3 separate regions of the Homo sapiens genome follow, and all the other regions are linked to region 3. Evidence: promoter capture Hi-C in 16 types of primary human blood cells and fetal thymus (Javierre and others, 2016). All regions are on one chromosome and are shown on one strand. Each heading gives the region's core, a stretch centred on a gene start or on the middle of the fragment in contact. The rest is flanking DNA. Distances are from core to core; before and after follow the strand shown. Region 1 overlaps KCNJ6 (potassium inwardly rectifying channel subfamily J member 6). Region 2 overlaps KCNJ6 (potassium inwardly rectifying channel subfamily J member 6). Region 3 holds the start of DYRK1A (dual specificity tyrosine phosphorylation regulated kinase 1A).

The links. The method cuts DNA at HindIII sites, captures the fragments that hold promoters and counts their contacts. A CHiCAGO score of 5 or more calls a contact.
Region 1: a fragment that was not itself captured here is called in contact with the fragment with the promoter of DYRK1A in region 3 in 1 of 17 cell types (endothelial precursors); the score reaches 5.1 in endothelial precursors.
Region 2: a contact is called between a fragment that was not itself captured here and the fragment with the promoter of DYRK1A in region 3, in 1 of 17 cell types (endothelial precursors). The highest score is 6.0, in endothelial precursors.

Annotation. Positions count from the first base shown.
Region 1 is chr21:37,635,842-37,639,580 of GRCh38, forward strand. All of the region lies in intron 3 of KCNJ6 (potassium inwardly rectifying channel subfamily J member 6), which reads right to left. All of the region lies in intron 1 of KCNJ6-AS1 (KCNJ6 antisense RNA 1), which reads left to right. Among named protein-coding and RNA genes, the nearest start is that of KCNJ6-AS1, 120 kb to the left of the region's middle. The HindIII fragment of the contact is 2,611 bases long and covers 665-3,275 here.
Region 2 is chr21:37,669,757-37,673,656 of GRCh38, forward strand. The region is part of intron 3 of KCNJ6 (potassium inwardly rectifying channel subfamily J member 6); the gene reads right to left. All of the region lies in intron 1 of KCNJ6-AS1 (KCNJ6 antisense RNA 1), which reads left to right. Among named protein-coding and RNA genes, the nearest start is that of KCNJ6-AS1, 150 kb to the left of the region's middle. The HindIII fragment of the contact is 972 bases long and covers 1,539-2,510 here.
Region 3 is chr21:37,365,450-37,369,000 of GRCh38, forward strand. DYRK1A (dual specificity tyrosine phosphorylation regulated kinase 1A) reads left to right here and starts at 1,324. Exons shown (of 12, transcript NM_001347721.2): 1 at 1,324-2,179. RefSeq lists enhancers at 1-785, 317-396, 1,710-2,634 and silencers at 537-716, 747-1,056, 1,637-1,786, 1,977-2,056, 2,297-2,436 and 1 more. The HindIII fragment of the contact is 3,979 bases long and covers 1-3,551 here.

The sequences.
Region 1 (3,739 bases), core at 720-3,219, 270 kb after region 3:
TTTTATAACAATATGTGAGGTACATTATTTTGTACTTATCAAGTACTATATTAAAAAATCACCTAATTCCATTTTTGTTGGAAATTTTTTGTATTACACTGCTTGTAATTATTCATGCAAAGGTCCTTCTTGTTCAGTGTTTTCAGAACCATTAACTATTCACGTATTTGGTGGTGGGTAGGGGAGAGCTACTGGTCTAAGTCCTGGGCTCTGAAGGTCTGAGAACGTGGAGTACTGATGTCTGAGGGAGAGGATGGACACCCATCTCTAGAAGAGAGAGCTGATTTCCCTTTTCCCTGCCTTTTCCCTGTTCTATCTGGGTCCTCAATGGATTGGATGGTGCCCACCCACACAGGTGAGGGCAGATCTTCTTTACTCACTTCAGATTCAAATGCCAGTCTCTTCTGGAAACACCCTCACAGACACACCCATAAATAATGTCTTATTAGCTACCTGGGTATCCCCAGCGCAGTCAAACTGACACGCAAACTCACCCAGGACAGGAAGGCTGCTTGATTTCCACAGTGTTGTCTGAACTAAGTTATTTCTCCAAAGGGTGTGTAGGAGTGTGCGTGTGTGCGTAGCTTTTAACAATTATTTCATTCCGCAGTTTCTCCACTGAGAGCTTCTCTGTCTGGATGCCTAGTTATTCTTCCAAGAGTTAAGCTTGCAGGGACATGCATGCAAACAACCTGTCTTTGGGTGGCCGTTTCATTCCCAATAAGACCATGTGAGAAGGAGAGCTTGGAGGGGAAGGGAGTGCGTGTTACGGGTGGTGATTGCAAAGCTCACTCTGCCTAGGATCCAGGAAAACAGACTGAAACATAGCTAAGGAATGTGCCATAGGCACTGAGCAAACACAGGGGCAGGCCCTGCAAGATGGAGATTTAACAGGCAAAGCCCTATTTTTAGATCCTGTGACAAATTATGGTGGGAGAAGTTTGTGTGCAGAATACCAATATGATGAAAGTCATCCTCATGAGAGAACCCCCTGGACAAAGCCAGAGGTATAGTCAATACATAGACAATACATGAAAACAGCCTGGAGGATATGATTCCAATAAAATTAGATGGATACAAACCACTCTCACCACTTCTGAATACTGTAAAATGAATCTGTATTGCCAATATTCAAAAACAGAACTGATTGTAGACACTTAACCATTTTATTTCAAACACCAGGCTACATAGATGATGTTTTCCTTTTCCTTTACTCCTGTGCCCATTCTCAATAAGAACTGTGCTGAATCAGTGCAGTAATAAAGTGTTGTGCACTTAGAAGTCAGTGCTGGGTCGCTTTTCATGTGGGAGAATGATGTTGGTGATTAACCAAGCCCAGTGTCAAAAAGAAGCAGGATAGTGTGATTTCTGGCATAATCATGGTTTTAGTTCATTAGGTTTTGCCAACTGCCGAACATTTAAATAACGATGAGCCCTGCCCTAGGCTCAGGTTAAAAATCCCTTCAATGAACAGTTGTGTTTCTTCTATTACCCAAATATTAGAGGGCCAGTGAGGGTCACCTCCAGTTATGCAAAAACAAATGGAAGTGTGGATTTTTAAAAATGTCTAAAAAAGATCCTACATGTGTACTCCTAATTCTATTCTCACCAAGGTCATTGATAAGTGTATAAATTAAGTATTGAATTAAGTAAGAAATGTTATTTATTGAGTGTTTACTGTGTGCTGGGCTCAGTGTGTGCTCGGTGTGAGCCAACCATCTGGTCCCTGAAACAGTCTTCTCAGACAGATGCTATGATCTTATGTGTGAGCAAACTAAGGCAAAGACAGATTAAGTAACTTCTCTGGGTCACATAGTGCTGTGGATTGAATATCATGCCCCAAAATTCATATTCAAAGCCCTGACCTCCAATATGACTGTATCTGGAGAACTGGCCTTAGGGAGATAAGTTAAGTCAAATGAGATCATAAGAATGGGTATCCTTAAGAGGAAGAGACAACAGAGCATGTGTACGCTCTTTCTACATGCACACAGAAGAGGCCGTGTGAGGACACAGCAAGAAGGTGGTTGTCCTACAAGCTAGGCAGAGAGCCCTAAGCAGAAGCCAACCCTGCTGACACCTTGATCTTGGACTTTCAGCCTCTAGAACTGTAAGGAAATACATTTCTCCTGTTAAAGCCACTGAGTCTGGTATGTTGCTGTGGCAGCCTAAGCAGACAAGTAGGTACAATAGGTAGTGGGGTGAGGGTTCTCATTTAGGAGGCCAAGCTCCAGAGTCTACGCTGTCAACCACAACACTATTATTTCTACATTTGAGGACAGAGACCACATGTTAATTTTGATCTTGATTTATTTTTATTTTTAAGATGGAGTCTCGCTCTGTTGCCCAGGCTGAAGTGCAGTGACGTGATCTCAGCTCACTGTAGCCTCTGCCTCCTGGGTTCAAGTGATTCTCCTGCCTCAGCCTCCCAAGTAGCTGGGATTAGAGGCGTGTACCACCATGCCCTGCTAATTTTTGTATTTTTGGTAGAGATGGGGTTTCACCATGTTGGCCAGGCTGGTCTTGAACTTCCGACCTCAGGTGAGCCACCCTTCTTAGCCTCCCAAAGTGCTAGGATTACAGGTGTGAGCCACCGCTCCCAGCCATAAATTTTGATCTTTATAACTGCTATAGTGTCTTACACCTAAAGATTGATAACATATTTTACAAAATAAAATGGAGTGCAAATGAATGATCATAGCCAAAGGCATTCTGCACACCAGCACCTGGCCACCATTTGTCCCAAATTGCCACTCCCTTCTGCCTACCATTTCCACCCTCCGCTAGCTTTCCTTTTAAGCCTGTCCATTCTTACCTCATCTTCCACACAAATGGTGTTTATTCTCTGCCCAAATCTGGGGTCCTGGCTACCATCTTCAGAAAATTGCTTGCAGACACCAGGCAACCTTCATTTACTTTTAAGAAATCACGAGATAGCCCCAAATCAAATCTCAAACTGCAGGAAACTTCTTCAAATTCTCCCATTCTATATTTGTATCTTCCTCCTCCAACAGTAAGAATCTGAATTCTCAACAACCTGTATATGTAGGCTCTCTCCTACAAAACATACAAAACACTTTCGGAACGGTCACATCCTTAACTCTACTGAGGAATTGCTTATGCAAGACTCAGACCTCACAGCTAAGGACCAGCAATTCCTCCAGTTGAAAAAGAAAATCCCATGTCACCTTATTTAGCCTGAGGGCTCCCAATAATGTACCAGTAGGTGATGGACCAATCACAAACTGCCCAATGCACTTGAAAGCCAATCAGAAAGCTTCCCTACTTCCAAAAATTCTACCTAATAGAACACTCACCAAGCAAAGATTATTTGTCTTAAGACTTCCTTCTTTTACTCTATAAAACCCACCCTCCTTTGATTTTTCACTAGGAGGAAAGTGATGGTAGCAGTCTTCCTTGTATGATCTCAATAAATAGCCTTTTGTTAATTCTACAGATGCACTTTGCCCTTTTGATACCAACAACTACAAACCTCTGAGGTAAAACTAAAAATTGCTTGCAATTCTTTTAAATCCTAGAATATTCCCACGAGGTTGTACAATCAAAACACTGTGTTCAAAAGTTACCTGAACTATTTTTTTTTCTATGTGGTTATGTTATCCATTGCATAAACAGTTAGGTTCCTTTGTTTCTATTTGTGTTTCCCTTTAGGGTTTGCTTTTGTCATTCTTTTTCTATTTTGTTTTTAAACTTGTAAGCCATTTAAATGGTTCAAAAA
Region 2 (3,900 bases), core at 775-3,274, 310 kb after region 3:
TTAAGATGGATATTCAAAATATTTGAAAATAATTTGAAAATATTTTCTCCCATTCTGTATGTTGTCTTTCACTTTCATGATAATGTATTTCAATGCATACAAGTTTTTTATTTTGATGAAGTTATATTTATATTTTTCTTTTGTTGCCTGTACTTGTGGTGTCACAGCTAAGAATCCATTGATGAATCCGAAGTCATGAAGATTTACCCCTGTGTTTTCTTCTAAAGAGTCTTACAGCTTTTGCTCCTCTATTTAGGTCTTGATGCATTTTGAGTTTATTTTTGCAAATGTATGAGGTAGAGTTTCAACTAATTCTTTTGCATGTATATATCTAGTTGTCCCAGCACCATTTGTTGAAAAGAGGATTCTTTCCCATTAAATGATCTTAGTGTCCTCATGAAAGTCAATTATTCTAAGGTGTGCAGGTTTATTTCTGGACTCTAAATTCTATTCCACTGGTTTAGATGTCCATCCTTATGCCTTATATTCAGTCACTGCTTTAATTACTATAGTTTTATAGTAAGTTTTGAAATGAGGAAGTGTGAATCTTCTAATTTTGTTCTTTTTCAGCATTGTTTTGGCCATTTGGGGACCCTTGCATTTCCATATGAACTTGAGGATTGGGCTTTTTAGTTCTGCAAAATGGCCATTGGAATTTTGGCAGGGATAACATTAAATCTGCAGATCACTTTGGGTAGTACTGCCATCTTAATAATATTAAGCCTGGGCTGAGTGCAGTGGCTCACACCTGTAATCTCAGCACTTTGGGAGGCTGAGGTGTGCAGATAACTTGAGCTCAGGAGTTTGAAACCAGCCGGGGCAACGTGGTGAAACCATGTCTCTCCTAAAAATACAAAAGTTAGCTGGGCATGGTGGTGCATGCTTGTAGTCCCAGCTACTTGGAGGGCTGAGGTGGGAGAATTACTTGAGCCTGGGAGGCAGAGGCTGCAGTCACCCAAGATCGTGCCACTGCACTCCAGCCTGGGTGACAGAATAAGACCCTGTCTCAAAAAGACAAAACAAAACAAAGCAAAAATAATATTAAGCCCTCCAACCTATAAGCACAGGATGTTATTCCATTTATTTAGATATTCTTTCATTTCTTTCAGCAGGACCTTATGATTTTCAGTATATGAGTTTTCACTTCCTTGGTTTGAACTTAGGTATTTTATTTCATTTTTTGGATGCTATTGTCAATGGGCCTGTTTTCTTAATTTCCTTTTTGAATTGTCCATTGCTAGTGTATTGTGATATTGTGAAATATATATTTGGCCTTTATCCCATTTCCTGATACATAGCTCCTAAAACCACTAGAATCTCTGGAGTGTTAAGAATGTCTTTTGTTTGCTACTGAGATGACTGGCAGCTGCAGACCTCTAGATAGCTTCCGGGTGGGGGCTGGCCACCTGAAAGACCATGGCATGATTAGAAGGTTGAGACTTTCGGTCCCACCCCCAACCTCCAGGGAAGGGAAGGGGGTTGAAGGTTCAGTTGATCACCAATGGCCAATGATATCATTACTCATGCCTACATAATGAAGCTTCCATAGAAAAGCAAAAGGACTGAGTTCTGGGGGCTTCTGGAAAGCTGAACACATGGATGTTCCTGGAAGGGGTTAACCCAGGGAGGGCGTGCCCCTCTTCTTGCCTCTTCTCCCACACTTTGCCCTGTACCCTTCTTCCTTCTGGCTGCTCATCTGTACCCTTAATTATATCCTTTATAATAAATGGGTAGGTGTAAGTAGAGTGGTTCCCTGAGTTCTGTGAACTGCTTTCGCAAATTAATTGAATCCCAGGATGGGGTTGCGGGAACTCCCAATTTACAGCCAGTTGGTCAGAAGCACAGGCCACAACCTGTGCTTGCGACTGGCATCTGCCGGGGTGGGGCAGGCTTGTGGGGCTGAGCCCTCACCCTGTGGGATCTGACACTGCCTGCAGGTAGACAGTGTCAGAGCTGAACTGAATTAGGGAACACACAGGGGTGTCCACTGGAGAATGACCTGCAGCACTGGTTGTTGTTGGAGAAACCCCAACAGCCCTCTGGAGTCATGGAAGTGTTATCTGTTGTAAGAGTATAGTACGAGATGCGGAGTTTGTTTCTTCCTAGGTCCTTATGTATAGAAATTCAACATTTTTTTTTGTGTTGATCTTGTACTCTACAACTTTTCTGAATTTGTTTATTGGCTCTCGTAGTATTTTTGTGGATTCTTTGGGGTTTTCTCTGTATAAGATCATGTTATCTTTGAATAGAACTAGTTTTACTTCTTTCCAATTGGAATACTTTCTGTTTCTTTTTTTTACTTAATTGCTCTGGAGGGAATTGTGTCTTGACCCATTCTCTACCTGTAGTCTAGGAGGGATTGACCCCATCTCTTAAGGGTGATCCCTGCTTGGCTTAAGCAAGTCCATAGAGCTCATCTGCTTGTCCCCAGTGATTGGGTCGGAAATGGCATATGACCTCCTTAAGGACAATGAGATGCAAAGAAATATAGCTTTAGCTTCTAGGAAGGAAGCTTCTCTTTTCTGTGGAAGCTTCTGGAAGAGATCCTGACTCTTCTGCTTGTGAGAAGTTGGGGCCTGAAATGTGGTGGACACTTCTGCTACCATGAAAGAAGTAGTCTAAGGATGACGGTGATGCAGAAGGAAGGGAAAGCAGGAGACCTGGAGAAAAGGAGCTGGGTCTGGGGGTCATCTCAGCGCCTAGGAACCGGCAGCATCGGAAGTCCTCTCCCCCTGGGTTTTTGGTTGTATGAGCTAAGACATCCTCAATTTTTTTTTCTTTTTTCATAAGTCAGTTTGGGTTCTCTGACATCTCTTTTTACTTGAAAATGTTAAAGTTCAAGATACATGGTATATCCTTAGCTTAGTATAAACTTATCAGCTATGGTTGTTTCACTTGGACTTTTTACCTAATCAAAAAGGAAATAAAGATGTAATACACATGTAAGGAGATGGTAGGTTTTTCTCTCTTTCTCTTTTTCTCCCTTCCCCTTCCCTTCCCTTCCTTTCTCTTTCTTTCTTCTCTCTCTCTCTGTTTTCTTGAGATAGGATCTGGCTATGTGGCTAAGGTGGGAGTGCAGTGGTACCATCACAGCTTACTGCAGCCTCGAACTCCTGGGCTAAAGTGGTCCTCCTGTCTCAGCCTCCCAAGTAGCTGGGACTACAGGTGCATGCTGCTGTGCCCTGTTAATTATTTTATTTTTTGTAGAGACAGAGTCTTGCTACATTGTCCAGGCCAGATTTTTCTTTTAAGTGTGGTAAATGCTATAAAAGTCTCCTTTTTACATTATTCTCAAAACGTTTTTAATGAGCAATAATATTCATTATTGAATGCAAAATGAGAGAGAGAAAACAAAGGAGGAGAAGAAGAATTGAGAGGAGACGGGGACAGGTAAGACAGCATGAGGGAAAGAGGAGTGGTGGAAATGGAGCAGAGGCTGGAGGAAGAGGGTTGGGACCTGAACCATCTCTAGGGCTATGGCCGATAGGCCCAGGGGCAGCCTGCTGGAGCTAGGGAAGTGGGTGGTTGTCCATCAGCTTTCCTGGGTGGTCCCATTACTGGGAGGCTTCCATCTCCAGCTGGACTGTCCTGCAGCTTCCTTTGGCTGGGCTGCCCCTGTCCCCTCCCCCTCTTCCAGTCCTGTTTCTTTCCAGGAGCCGGCTCCTTGGAGCTCATCCATCCTCCTTCCTGGGGCTCCAGGCTTCCTTTTCTCAGGGATAGGATTTGTCTCTCAGCTTCAGAAATGAGGGTGCATCTCAGAGCAGCACTTTTCCTGGCCCAGTGGCTGGGCTCACTTGTGTCTGTGTTGTGTCCAACTCACTCATCACACACCTGTTGTGGATAGGACACAACACAGGGACACAGGGATGAGACAGAAATGAGGACACAGGCACTGACATG
Region 3 (3,551 bases), core at 74-2,573:
AAATAGTATATATATACACACACACTCTTTTTAGGTATACATTTATTAAATGCCATTAGAGTTGGTACAAAATACAATTTTTAGCTGGTGGCTCTCTACCGATTACAACGCAGCCAGCACAGCATACTTGGGTTTTCAAGCCTCGGGAGCTCACCCAGCAATACATAGCTAGGGAGAAGGGGTAGGGAGAATAAAAATCAGCGAAAGCCAGGATATTAATAAAGAGTTTTGATGGTTAAGGACAAGCAGGCGAATTAAGACTCTGGAAACCGAGAAGGTGTATAGAAAAGAAAACCAGAGAGCTGGACGACAAGGACACAGTAACAGCACAAGGGGATTCATCTAAAGGGCATTCCGATGGAGCAGGCAGGCTGCGCCCCGAAAGGTGGGGAGAGGTTGGAAGCAGATGGGCAGGCACAGGCGAGCGTGCACTGCCTGAAAAAGTTTTCATGATGGCTCCAGCCTAATTTCCCAACGCTGGTCTCGGGCGCCACAAAACCTGGGCGGCCCGACCGGAGCCAGGTGCCAGCCTCAGGGCCGCCGGGCCCGGCGCAGCGTCCGGAATTCCTGCGATGTCTGGGGCGCGGCGGTGGCTCCTCCCCGCCCCCACCACGGCCTCCGCCGGCATTTTCCGGCTAGGAGGCCCGCCAGCCCTTCGAAGAACCGGCTCCACGCGCGGACGGTCGCGGCCGCCGCGCTTCCCGGGGAGAGAGGCGAGCGCGGCGCCCGGACCGCGGTGAGAGCCCTCCAGGCCCGGGCGCGCGGGGTGGGCTTCCCGGGTCCCCGCCCGAAGGCCGCGGCGCCCCTCCTCCTCCCCCTCCCCCGCCCGGGGCAGCCCGCCCCTCCCCCCGGCGCGGGCGGGGCTGCGGGCGCCGACGCGGAAGCGCGGGGCGCTAGGGCTGCGGGGGCGGCGGCGCGGGAGGCCGCGCGCGCTCCCCGGGCCGCAGTCGGCGCGGGCGCGGGGCGGGGCGGGGCGGCCGGGAGGCGGCGGGCGATCGCGCACAGGCCTGGCCGCCGCCTCGCCCCCCCTTCCCCAGCCCCTACCCTCCCTCGGCCTAGCCGTCCCCCTCCTCTCCCCTCCCCCGGGCGAATCACGCGCCCTCCTCTGACACTCGTAGCGGACCCGAGCTCCGAATTTATCCTTCACGTGACCTGAGGGGGTTGGGTGGTTGGCTGGGGACAGAGGGGGAGACGGAAAGGAGGGAACGGAATCTGCCGTTACCTGAGCAACAGGCCCCGCCCGCCGGCTCGGGGCTGGGGGGCGGGAGGAGGACGTCAGCACGTCAGCCGGGGTTTTGCGTTTTGATTGACAGTTGCTATAGCGACCGGGTCGGTCCGTCGCCATTTTGTTGGTTGGTTTTTTTTTAAACCCTTTCGCTTCCCGCCCGAATAATAATAAAAAGCCCCATTGGAGTGAGGCGGGGGTGGCGGCGGCAACCGCGGCGGGGGTATCCGGGGAGACTGCTGCTGTCGCTGCTGCTGATCGCGGCCCAGGTCGGCCTCAGAGAGCGGACACCCCGAGCGGGGGGTGCGGGCGCCGCCGCCGCCGCTTCTGCTGCTGCTGTTCCTGCTGCTGCTGTTGGTGCCGCTGCCGCCGCCGGCGAGCAGGCGGGACCGGTGTGAGTGCGAGTGTGTGTGCGAGGGAGCGTGTGCGAGGGCGATTGTGCGCGCGAGTGTGCGGGTGTGTGCGAGTGTCTGTCTGTCTGTGCGGGGACTCGGGGGCGGGCGGTTCGGGCTCTCCTGGCGGAGGAGCCGCCGCCGCCGCCCGGGCCCCGGCGCTTCTCGCTGCGCAGGTTCGGAGCGCGCGCCATTTTGTGAGATTTACAAAATCCTCCTCGGGAAGAAGCCGCCGGCAGCAGCCGCCGCTCGGCGCCCGGCCTCGCCGACGCCGCCCTCTGCGCCGGGCCGGCCGTGCGGCCCCGCCGCCTGGAATCGGGGCCCGGGGACTGCGGTATTTGCCGGGGAGGGGGCTGTCGCCTCCCCGGCCCCGGGCGCCGCTGGAACCGCGAGCCGAGGAGAGACTGAGCAGGCTGCGGCGCGGCCAGGAGCCGGAGCGCCGGGGGCGGAGAGAGGCTGCCGGGGCGGCGCTGGCTGCGGAGGCCGCGGCGGGAGCGCGGCGCGGGAGCCCGAGGCTGAGACTCACCGGAGGAAGCGGCGCGAGCGCCCCGCCATCGTCCCGGTGAGTGTCCGGCCCGGCCGCGGCCCCGCCCGGCCTGGCGCTCGGCTCCCCCGGCGGCCCGCAGCCGGGCCGGAGCCGAGGCCGGCCGGGCGGAGGGAGGGACCTGCCATTTTAGGAGGAGGCGCCGCGGGCCCAGGGCCGGCCGCCGGGGGAGGGAGCCTCAGGCCGGGTCCCGGAGGAGCGGCGGGCGCGAGCGGAGGGAAAGTTGCGGAGGGTGGGAGCGGGGGCCGCGGCCTCCCGGGAGCCGGGGCCTGGGGGGCCGTAGACAGCGCCAGACCTTCACTGGCCGCCCGAGCGAAGGGGTGGAGGTTGTCTTCCTCCTCCTCCTCCTCCTCTTCCTCCTCATCCTCTTCCCCCAGCTCCTCCCTCGTCCCTCCTCTCGGTCCCCACCAGTGTGGGAACCGCCGGGGTGATTCGCAAGGACAATGCACGGGTTAAGAAAATGGGGCCGGCTGCCGGGTGGGCGAGGACGGCGGGGCCGGGCCGGGCCGGGCGCCGGCGAAGGTCGGGAGCCGCTGCCTCGGCGGCCCTGGGGGTCCGCGCTGGAGCGAGGGGCACTCACTGGCCTCCGAAGTTGGGCGGGGAGCGCGAGTGTCCCCGGCGGCTCGGGGTGGAGGGATGACCTGCCCGGCAGCCGGGGGAGTTGGTGGCTGAGGAGAGGTGAATTAGAATAGATACCTGTGTATCGCCACAAAACTTCACCAGTCTATTTATAGGCACAAACCCACTCTCGCTTCGGAGCCACCAAAGCTGCTGAGTAGCTCAGTACTTGGCGAAAGGCTCCTCCCTAATCTGAAATAGTTAAAAATGGTAAAATTAGTGAGTCAGTGACTCTGGTTACTTGCCTGTGCCTTTCGCCCAACCCTAGGTGACACGAATCCCATAATCTGGGCACAGCGCAGGAATGCTAGCACCATTTGGTTCTTGAATTCCGCCCAAATTGTCAGAAAATACGCCTTAGAACGTTGTTTTCACAAGTGCCAGGCTCTGTTTTTAGGGTTTTCAGTGGATCGACCAGCTTGCCCAGCCGGTAGGAACTGTTCCCATTTTATAGATGAGGAGAGTGAGTCTGGAGAGGGGCACTGACTGGTCTAAGGTCATACAGCTGGGACTCCAGGAGCCAGAAGGCTGTAGCCAGTCTGGAGTTGTGAATCATTAGGGTGTAACTCATTATTAGAAATACTGGCAAATTTTGGAGTGATTCGTGTTTAATGACTCAGGGTTCTAACCTAGAGATGTGTCCCCGTAAGGTTTTTAGCGTGGAATTACCTTTGTGGCTTGCCGAGGCCAAAAGGTAAGGTAATGGTGATGAGGCCTGTTAATAAACTTTTCAGGCCTTTCCCCCCCCAAGAAAACTATGTAGTCAATTTTT